Linked DNA regions of Homo sapiens: region 1 is linked to region 2. The links are contacts of gene promoters, found by promoter capture Hi-C in blood cells and fetal thymus (Javierre and others, 2016). All regions are on one chromosome and are shown on one strand. Each heading gives the region's core, a stretch centred on a gene start or on the middle of the fragment in contact. The rest is flanking DNA. Distances are from core to core; before and after follow the strand shown. Region 1 overlaps BEAN1 (brain expressed associated with NEDD4 1). Region 2 holds the start of CDH5 (cadherin 5).

What was found. Contacts are between HindIII fragments. The CHiCAGO score rates a contact against its expected background, and 5 or more counts as called.
Region 1: a fragment that was not itself captured here is called in contact with the fragment with the promoter of CDH5 in region 2 in 1 of 17 cell types (activated CD4 T cells); the score reaches 5.0 in activated CD4 T cells.

Annotation. Positions count from the first base shown.
Region 1 is chr16:66,456,974-66,461,150 of GRCh38, forward strand. The region is part of intron 2 of BEAN1 (brain expressed associated with NEDD4 1); the gene reads left to right. It also overlaps the pseudogene LOC107984807. Among named protein-coding and RNA genes, the nearest start is that of BEAN1-AS1, 17 kb to the right of the region's middle. The HindIII fragment of the contact is 4,152 bases long and covers 13-4,164 here.
Region 2 is chr16:66,364,919-66,368,996 of GRCh38, forward strand. It overlaps CDH5 (cadherin 5), which reads left to right and starts at 1,773. Exons shown (of 12, transcript NM_001795.5): 1 at 1,773-1,840. LOC105371318 (a long non-coding RNA gene) reads right to left here. Exons shown (of 3, transcript XR_933687.3): 3 at 1-9. RefSeq lists enhancers at 1,666-2,215, 3,026-3,732. The HindIII fragment of the contact is 26,652 bases long and covers 1-4,078 here.

The sequences.
Region 1 (4,177 bases), core at 839-3,338, 92 kb after region 2:
CAATGGTTGAAAAGCTTCTATTTGGCAGTAAAGTGCTCTCCTGTTCACTCTGACACATTAAACAGATGGAAGCAGAGGTGGGAGCAGGGAACAGTGCCAGGGCAGCTGTGTGGGACCTCTTGCTTTCCCCAGTTTGAGAGGTCCATTTTAGTCTGATTCATATTTGTGTTCCCAGTGTCTAGCATATATCCAGGCATGAATTAAGTGTTTGGTGAGTATTGGTGAGGGGATGGGTGGATGGATGGATGAATGACGGATGGATGGATGATTAATGGATGGATGGATAAGTGAACGATTGAGTGGATGTTGAGTAGATGCATAGATAGGTAAATGCCTGAGAGGATGGATGATTTGCTGGCTGGGTGAATTGATGGAGGATTGTTGAATAGGGACTGATGAATAGGTATATGACTTCACCTTCCATGTCTCCTGTCCACTGTAATCTGCCCCGCTCCCAATGCCACAAATGTCAGGTGGCATGGACCATGACAAGACATTAGTTGACTTCTTGTAGAGATGCATCCTCATTGTAAAAAGTAGTCTGAACACCAAGTATCCTTTTCCTCACCCCATGATCCAAATGTTCAGCTGCCATCAAGGTGACATCCTACAGACTCACCCCTCTGTGTTCCTGCCCATGCTCTTCTCTCCCTTTACTGATCCTGATATGCTTAGTTCATCTTTCGAGACCCAGCCCTTCTGTGTCCTCCTCTCTGAGATGTCCCTGGCCTGTCCCCAGACCTCCAACATCCCTCTATCAGTCTCCTGGTGACCAGAGGACAGATATCAGCAAGTGAGCTAAAAAGTTGCCCAAAAAAAAAAAACAGCAGCAGAGGAGACTCAGAAGTATCCAAACCAATGAGCCCTGCCCTGCCATGTCCCCTCCCCCAGCCCTTCTTGAAGTCCCTGCTTAGAGGATGGGATCAGCCAATGGTGAACAGAGGGAAAATGGTGCCTGAGTCGTGTTCCCTACACTCCTTCCAATGACTCCACGCCTCACCCTGTCCATTTCAGCAGTGGAGGAAGAGTGTACTGATGAGGCCAGACTTGCCCGGGAAGTGGACCTGTGACAAATGTCTTTGGAATTTTTGTGACAGGAGCCATCCATTAGTTCTGAGTCCTTGGCCCCCCTTCTCCCTCTAACCAGCATCTCTGAGAGAGTGGGCAGGATTGGCAGCCTGAAGGTGCTGAGTCAGCACTTTTGCGTCTCTGTTCCTTCCCTTTGTCACTGCAGCTCAGGTAGCTTCAGGCTGCAAAGAGCACTTCCCTGAACCCAGACAGAATGACTGTGGAGCTGCCTCCATGCTACACTCAGCAAGGACTTGGGAGTGATGGTCTGCCTCAGTTTCCCTGCCCTTAATGTTCCCCAGGTTCCCCACACCGGAGCCAGCCCTGACCTAAGCCACCTGATACAGGCCTGGATCTCATTCCCTCCCCTCATAGTTTTTGGCCCCCTCCCCTCCCACCCTGGAGGGAGTTGAATAATCAGTGCCTCTTCAAACAGCCAGCAGGTTCAGAGAGGGCAAGCGGCATGCCGAAGGTCACACAGTGAATGAGTGACAGAACGAGGAACAGAGCCCAGTTCTCCGGCCCCCACCCCCAAACCCCTCAGCCCCACAAAATCCTGCTCTCTCCTTCTGCTCTGTGCTACTATTTGATAAATTATCAGATAAACCTGAGTTCAAACCCCAGCTCTGCCACAAAACCAGGTGGGCAATCTTGAACACATAACTTTAGCTCACCAAGACAAAATGTCCTCATCTGTAAATGAGAGTGACAGTGGTATCCACACAGAGAGGAAGCAAGCCCCAGACTCACTCCCACATCCAGGTCTGCAAAAGGACCTTTTTGCACTTAGGACCTTCTGATTCCATGGAGTTCCCAGTCCCAGCCCTGGACTAGAAGCTGGAGGAGCCAGAGCTGGCTTCTGCCTTGCACAGCAGAGGCCCATGGACCCAGGCACCGCTCCTGCCTCGTCAGGGGACTTGGGGTCCCATCTGTGGAATGGGAATAATACCACGGCTGTCTCTGAAGGCTGCTCAGAAGACAACTAATTGGAGAGGCTAAGGAACTCCCTGCAGTGTCATTCTGTGGCATCAAGTGTGCTCATCCAAGCCGTGCTCAGCTCTGTGCTCACCTCTGTTCAGGGCAGAGGCCGTGGGCTCAGCTTCCTCTAGCCTGAGTTCCAAGCTCATGGGGACCCTTGCAGCAGCCTCCTCCCTGGTCTCCTGCCCCGAACCCTGCCTCTGCCCATTCTGTCCTCCATCTGCAACCCGAGGCTCTCCTAAAACACTCTGACCACGCCCCTCTTTGCCCTTGGGGAAAAGGACAATCTCTTTCTCTTTTTTTTTCTTTTTCTCTTTTGAGGTGGTGTTTCACTCTGTCACCCAGGCTGGAGTGCAGTGGCACAATCTCAGCTCATTGCAACCTCTGCCTCCTGGGTTCAAGCGATTCTCCTGCCTCAGCTTCCCGAGTAGCTGGGATTACAAGCACCTGCCACCATGCAAGGCTAATTTTTTGTATTTTTAGTAGAGACAGGTTTTCACCATGTTGACCAGGCTGATCTCAAACTCCTGACCTCAGGTGGTCCACCCACCTCAGCCTCCCAAAGTGCTGAGATTACAGGCATGAGCCACTGCACCTGTCCCAAAGGACAGTCTCTTGATGTGACCTTGAAGACCCCTCACGGTATGGTCCCTGCAAGCCCCTCCAAACTTAGCCCCCAGCAGGCTTCTCTCCAGCCTCCTCCTCTCTTGTGATTCCTCAAATGCATCAAGTCCTCAGCAGGGCCCCAAGATTCTCCTATAATGGAATTTGCCAGACGGATTTATCACTGATGGGCAGCCCATTCCAGACCAGGACTCTTTAAGTCCTGACTTGCTCTTCTGGCTGAAAGCACCTACTCTGTTCCGACACTCTGCCACTCCTTGTAAATGTCTGTGGATCCCACGATTGGGCTGTGGGGGTTGGGTGGGTGATGGACGGAAGGATGGGCCAATGGGTGACTGGGAGCAGCTCCCCTGGGATGCACTCAGGCACACCGTGCACACCAAGCAACCAGTCACAGACTGCCCCTGGTCCAATTCAAATGGCTCCTGAGCTTCCTCTCTGCACTGGCCCTGCCCAGTATCCTAGGCAGATGGGGTGACAAGAGAGAGAGACACAGGCCCCACCCTCCTGGTGTTCTCAGTCCCTGTGGAACCAGAGCGCTGGAGAGTGCCAGTTCAGGAATTGCAAAGAGCATTCCAGGCTCACCACTTTAACCAGCTCTGTGCTCAGCTTCCCTCTCTGTAAGATGGAGGAAAGACACTCTCCACCTCTCAGGGCTGCTGTGAAGATTAAATGAGAGAAGCATGCATGAAAAGAGTTTAGAGCCTGATGGATGTACAGTAAGTGCTGTCAGTGAGAGCTATCTTATCTTTATCATTGTTCTTCCTCAGTAAAATCACCCAAGGGTCCCTACCTGCAATCTAGAACATCTCTAGGACATACCCAGAGATAGAACAGATACAGAACAGGAGGTCCTCGCACATCCCTGGATGATTTGCTTCTCCCCAGGCACCTGCCTGCTGTGGCCCATCTCTTTCTGAGACACACAGGCTCCCATCTCTGGAATCCTGGTATCTTATGGCAATGTTCAGCTGTTGATACACCTTCATCCTGAATAGCCCCAGGTCATGGCTGGCTCTGGCTATATATCAAGTGGCTCAGAAGAAGCAAAACATCATTTTGGGGAGAAGAGCATTCTCCCTTCACAAGAGTTAAGAAACCAGAACTCCCAGTGCATGGTGCCTGGTAGCCACAGAATAGCATATTGGCTAAGAGCACAGGGCTTCAGTTTTTCACTGACCCAGGTCTCTATCTGTGGGGCTGTGTGACCTTGGGAAAGTTACTTAACCTCTCTGAGGCTGTTTCCTTACCTGTTAACTGGGGAATCCCATTATAGACCATCATGAGGATTAAATGAGATAATGTGGTGCATGACAAGTACCACGTATGGTGTAAGGCATACAATACAGTAGGTGCTCAGGAGATGGTAATTACTCATGCTGGCATTGGGGGGGAGGTGGTATCTCAGAGAAGAGCCTATTTTTTTGAGGTTTCCACTGGATCATGAGCACCTTTATAGAAACTGCTTGGGAAGAAAGTCCAGGAAGGAGGCAAAGCTTGTTTCATC
Region 2 (4,078 bases), core at 523-3,022:
GGATGCTCCCTGGGGACATGAGCGTGCTGCCATAGTTAAAAAAAAAAAAAAAAAAAAAAAAAAAAAACCCTCCCACTTCTCTGCTCCCATTCACTGTAAGACTTGGGGAAGAAGCTACAGTCACACGTGACTCCACATCCCCGTCCCCCTTTCTCCCCTTTCTCTAGCCCCTCCAATCTGTCTTGTCTACCTTTTCCTGTTTAACCTGTTCTGGTCACAGTCATTGATGACCTCATCTTCCAAATCCAAAGTTAAGTCTCAGCCCTCATGCTCCCCAGGCTGACCCACTGACTACTCCCCTGCCCTCCTCCTCTGCCCTCTCCTGGCATTCCTCCTTCATCATGGGACCCTCTTCTAATGGATCCCCAAATGTCAGAGGGTCCAAGTCCTCCCTCCCTCCAAGCTCATCCATGCCCATGGCCTCAGATGCCAGCCATAAGCTGTTGGGTTCCAAACCTCGACTCCAGGCTGGACTCACCCCTGTCTCCCCCACCAGCCTGACACCTCCACCTGGGTATCTAACGAGCATCTCAAACTCAACCTGCCTGAGACAGAGGAATCACTATCCCCTCCTCCTCCAAAAATATCCTTCCATCACACTCCCCATCTTGTGCTCTGATTTACTAAACGGCCCTGGGCCCTCTCTTTCTCAGGGTCTCTGCTTGCCCAGCTATATAATAAAACAAGTTTGGGACTTCCCAACCATTCACCCATGGAAAAACAGAAGCAACTCTTCAAAGGACAGATTCCCAGGATCTGCCCTGGGAGATTCCAAATCAGTTGATCTGGGGTGAGCCCAGTCCTCTGTAGTTTTTAGAAGCTCCTCCTATGTCTCTCCTGGTCAGCAGAATCTTGGCCCCTCCCTTCCCCCCAGCCTCTTGGTTCTTCTGGGCTCTGATCCAGCCTCAGCGTCACTGTCTTCCACGCCCCTCTTTGATTCTCGTTTATGTCAAAAGCCTTGTGAGGATGAGGCTGTGATTATCCCCATTTTACAGATGAGGAAACTGTGGCTCCAGGATGACACAACTGGCCAGAGGTCACATCAGAAGCAGAGCTGGGTCACTTGACTCCACCCAATATCCCTAAATGCAAACATCCCCTACAGACCGAGGCTGGCACCTTAGAGCTGGAGTCCATGCCCGCTCTGACCAGGAGAAGCCAACCTGGTCCTCCAGAGCCAAGAGCTTCTGTCCCTTTCCCATCTCCTGAAGCCTCCCTGTCACCTTTAAAGTCCATTCCCACAAAGACATCATGGGATCACCACAGAAAATCAAGCTCTGGGGCTAGGCTGACCCCAGCTAGATTTTTGGCTCTTTTATACCCCAGCTGGGTGGACAAGCACCTTAAACCCGCTGAGCCTCAGCTTCCCGGGCTATAAAATGGGGGTGATGACACCTGCCTGTAGCATTCCAAGGAGGGTTAAATGTGATGCTGCAGCCAAGGGTCCCCACAGCCAGGCTCTTTGCAGGTGCTGGGTTCAGAGTCCCAGAGCTGAGGCCGGGAGTAGGGGTTCAAGTGGGGTGCCCCAGGCAGGGTCCAGTGCCAGCCCTCTGTGGAGACAGCCATCCGGGGCCGAGGCAGCCGCCCACCGCAGGGCCTGCCTATCTGCAGCCAGCCCAGCCCTCACAAAGGAACAATAACAGGAAACCATCCCAGGGGGAAGTGGGCCAGGGCCAGCTGGAAAACCTGAAGGGGAGGCAGCCAGGCCTCCCTCGCCAGCGGGGTGTGGCTCCCCTCCAAAGACGGTCGGCTGACAGGCTCCACAGAGCTCCACTCACGCTCAGCCCTGGACGGACAGGCAGTCCAACGGAACAGAAACATCCCTCAGCCCACAGGCACGGTGAGTGGGGGCTCCCACACTCCCCTCCACCCCAAACCCGCCACCCTGCGCCCAAGATGGGAGGGTCCTCAGCTTCCCCATCTGTAGAATGGGCATCGTCCCACTCCCATGACAGAGAGGCTCCTCGAGGGCACGCTGGGCCTCCTCGTGGCTCAGAGCAGGGTCGGGGAAGGTGCACCCAGAGGTAGTGCCAAGGGCACAAATGGGCATCTCGGGGCTGAGGGGGGCAGGGCAAGGGCTTGGCTCTCCCAGAAGTGTATTCTCCAACTCAAAAAGGCCCACTGGCCTTCATCAGTGCCAGGCTCAGAGAGGGCAGTATTCTGCCCCAGTTGCCCAGCATGCCGGGGCAGAGGACTGGCACCCAGGCCTTGGCCTCCCCTCGGTGCCTTACCCTTACTGGAGAGGATTTACCAAGGCCTGACACCAGCCTCCTCAGCCCCCTACCCATACGCCACTAAAGCTCTATGCTGGGATCTGGGGAGGGGCCCTGAAAAGGAAGCTCCGAGCCTTGGCCCCTCTCGGTCAGCCAGTGCCCCCATTTCAGGATAGGCAAGCTGAGGCTTGGCTCTGGGCACTTGAGGTCTTGCCTTTCCCTCTGGGCCTTTCCCTGCCCAAACACCATCGGGGCCCACTATGTGTCAAGGGAGCTGTAGTCTGGACAGCGGTCCACCATTCCTCCCACCAGCACCCTTTCAAAGGCTAGAGCATAAGAGCCCCAAGGCCCCCACAGCCCAGGAAGTCCCCCAGAAGCAGGAGGTCTGGGCCAAGAGCCTGGCCTGGAGACAGCTGCCCTGGGTACAGATCCCAGCTCTCCCATTTGCTCTGGGGTGACCTTGGGAAAGTTACCCAGAGTTTCCAAACCACAGTGGGGAACAAGGGATGGTGTGGGGCTCATTATTTTACCATTAACAACTCCACAAGGTAGATACATTCTTTCTTTATATCTCAGTGAAAGCAACTGAGCTTTGGAAACATATGAGCTGGTGTGGGGATTTGAACCAGGATCTCGTACTCCAAAGCCCCAGCTCTCCCCAGGTCTCAAGTGTCTCATCTGTGAAATGGGGAAACAGTGTTTCCTCAGTCAATTGAGTGAAGTGAGCTACATCCCTGGTGCTGGGAATGGCACATAACATGAGATCTTTAAGGAATAGTGGCTGGATTTACCAGCTAGCACAGAGCCGATCCTGGTTGTGAATGTGATAAAGATTTTGGCCCTTGAGGTATGGTCAAACCCCATCACGGAGGGGTCCTCAGGTGCCCAGCAGGTACGAGGAAGGGGGTGCAAGTGAGAGGACATCGCGAGCACCTCTGGGCCTCTGCTCCATGTCAGGCTCCCTCCCCAGCGTGGACGTTTCTCATGTGTGATGGGCAGATAGGATTCTGACAAGAGAGGAAGGGCATTCCCAGGGAGGCAGCTTTGAGGAGTCGAGGGTGTACCTGGAAGGCTCTTTTGCCACAGGCCACTGGAGCCAGGGCCAGAAGCCCTGGTCCATCCTCAGGTGGTGGGAAGCCTGGGACTCTCCTCTGCCTGCCCTAGAGAGCAGCAGGTATCCACCAAGGGGCCCAAGAGCTGCTGAGCCCCTGAGCAGCCCTACCAATTTCAGCTTATGGTGGTGAGGGGTAGGGGAGGTGTATACTGGCCTGGAAGGGGTTAAGCTGCCCGCCTGCAGCCTCAGCCTGAGCTATTGTGTTGCCAAACAAGGGCCGGACATGAGGGCAGGAAGCCAGCAGGGGCCACACATTTTCTGCAAAGTTGGATGATTCACTGCTGACTTGGGGACACCCAGGGGACAGAGGGGACACCATCCCAGGAAGAATCTTAGGCTCATTTTGCCCACATGGACCCATGACTGTTCCCTGTATCCTCTCTCTGCACCCCCTCAGTCACACTGAAGCAACTATGAGAATTCCCATTTGACAGATGGGACCATCGAGGCTGAGGGAAGCTGTGCAGCCAGTCCAAGGTCACACAACCAACACAAGGTAGAAGCAGGGTGAGTGCGGTTCCTTCTGACCCACAGTCCATGCCACACTCCACAGTGAAGCTCAGAGAGGGGGAAAGCAGAGCAGTCCAGGCCACAGAGGCAGGCACAGGGACAAGCCAGGAGCCCAGTGATACCAGGGGAAGGAATGTTCTAGGAGGCAGGGCCTCAGGAGCTTCACCTCTGGCTGAGGAGATACTAAAAAGTCTGTCCTGATCCAGGTTCAAGCTGGTGTTAAGTGGGTAAATCATGGAGG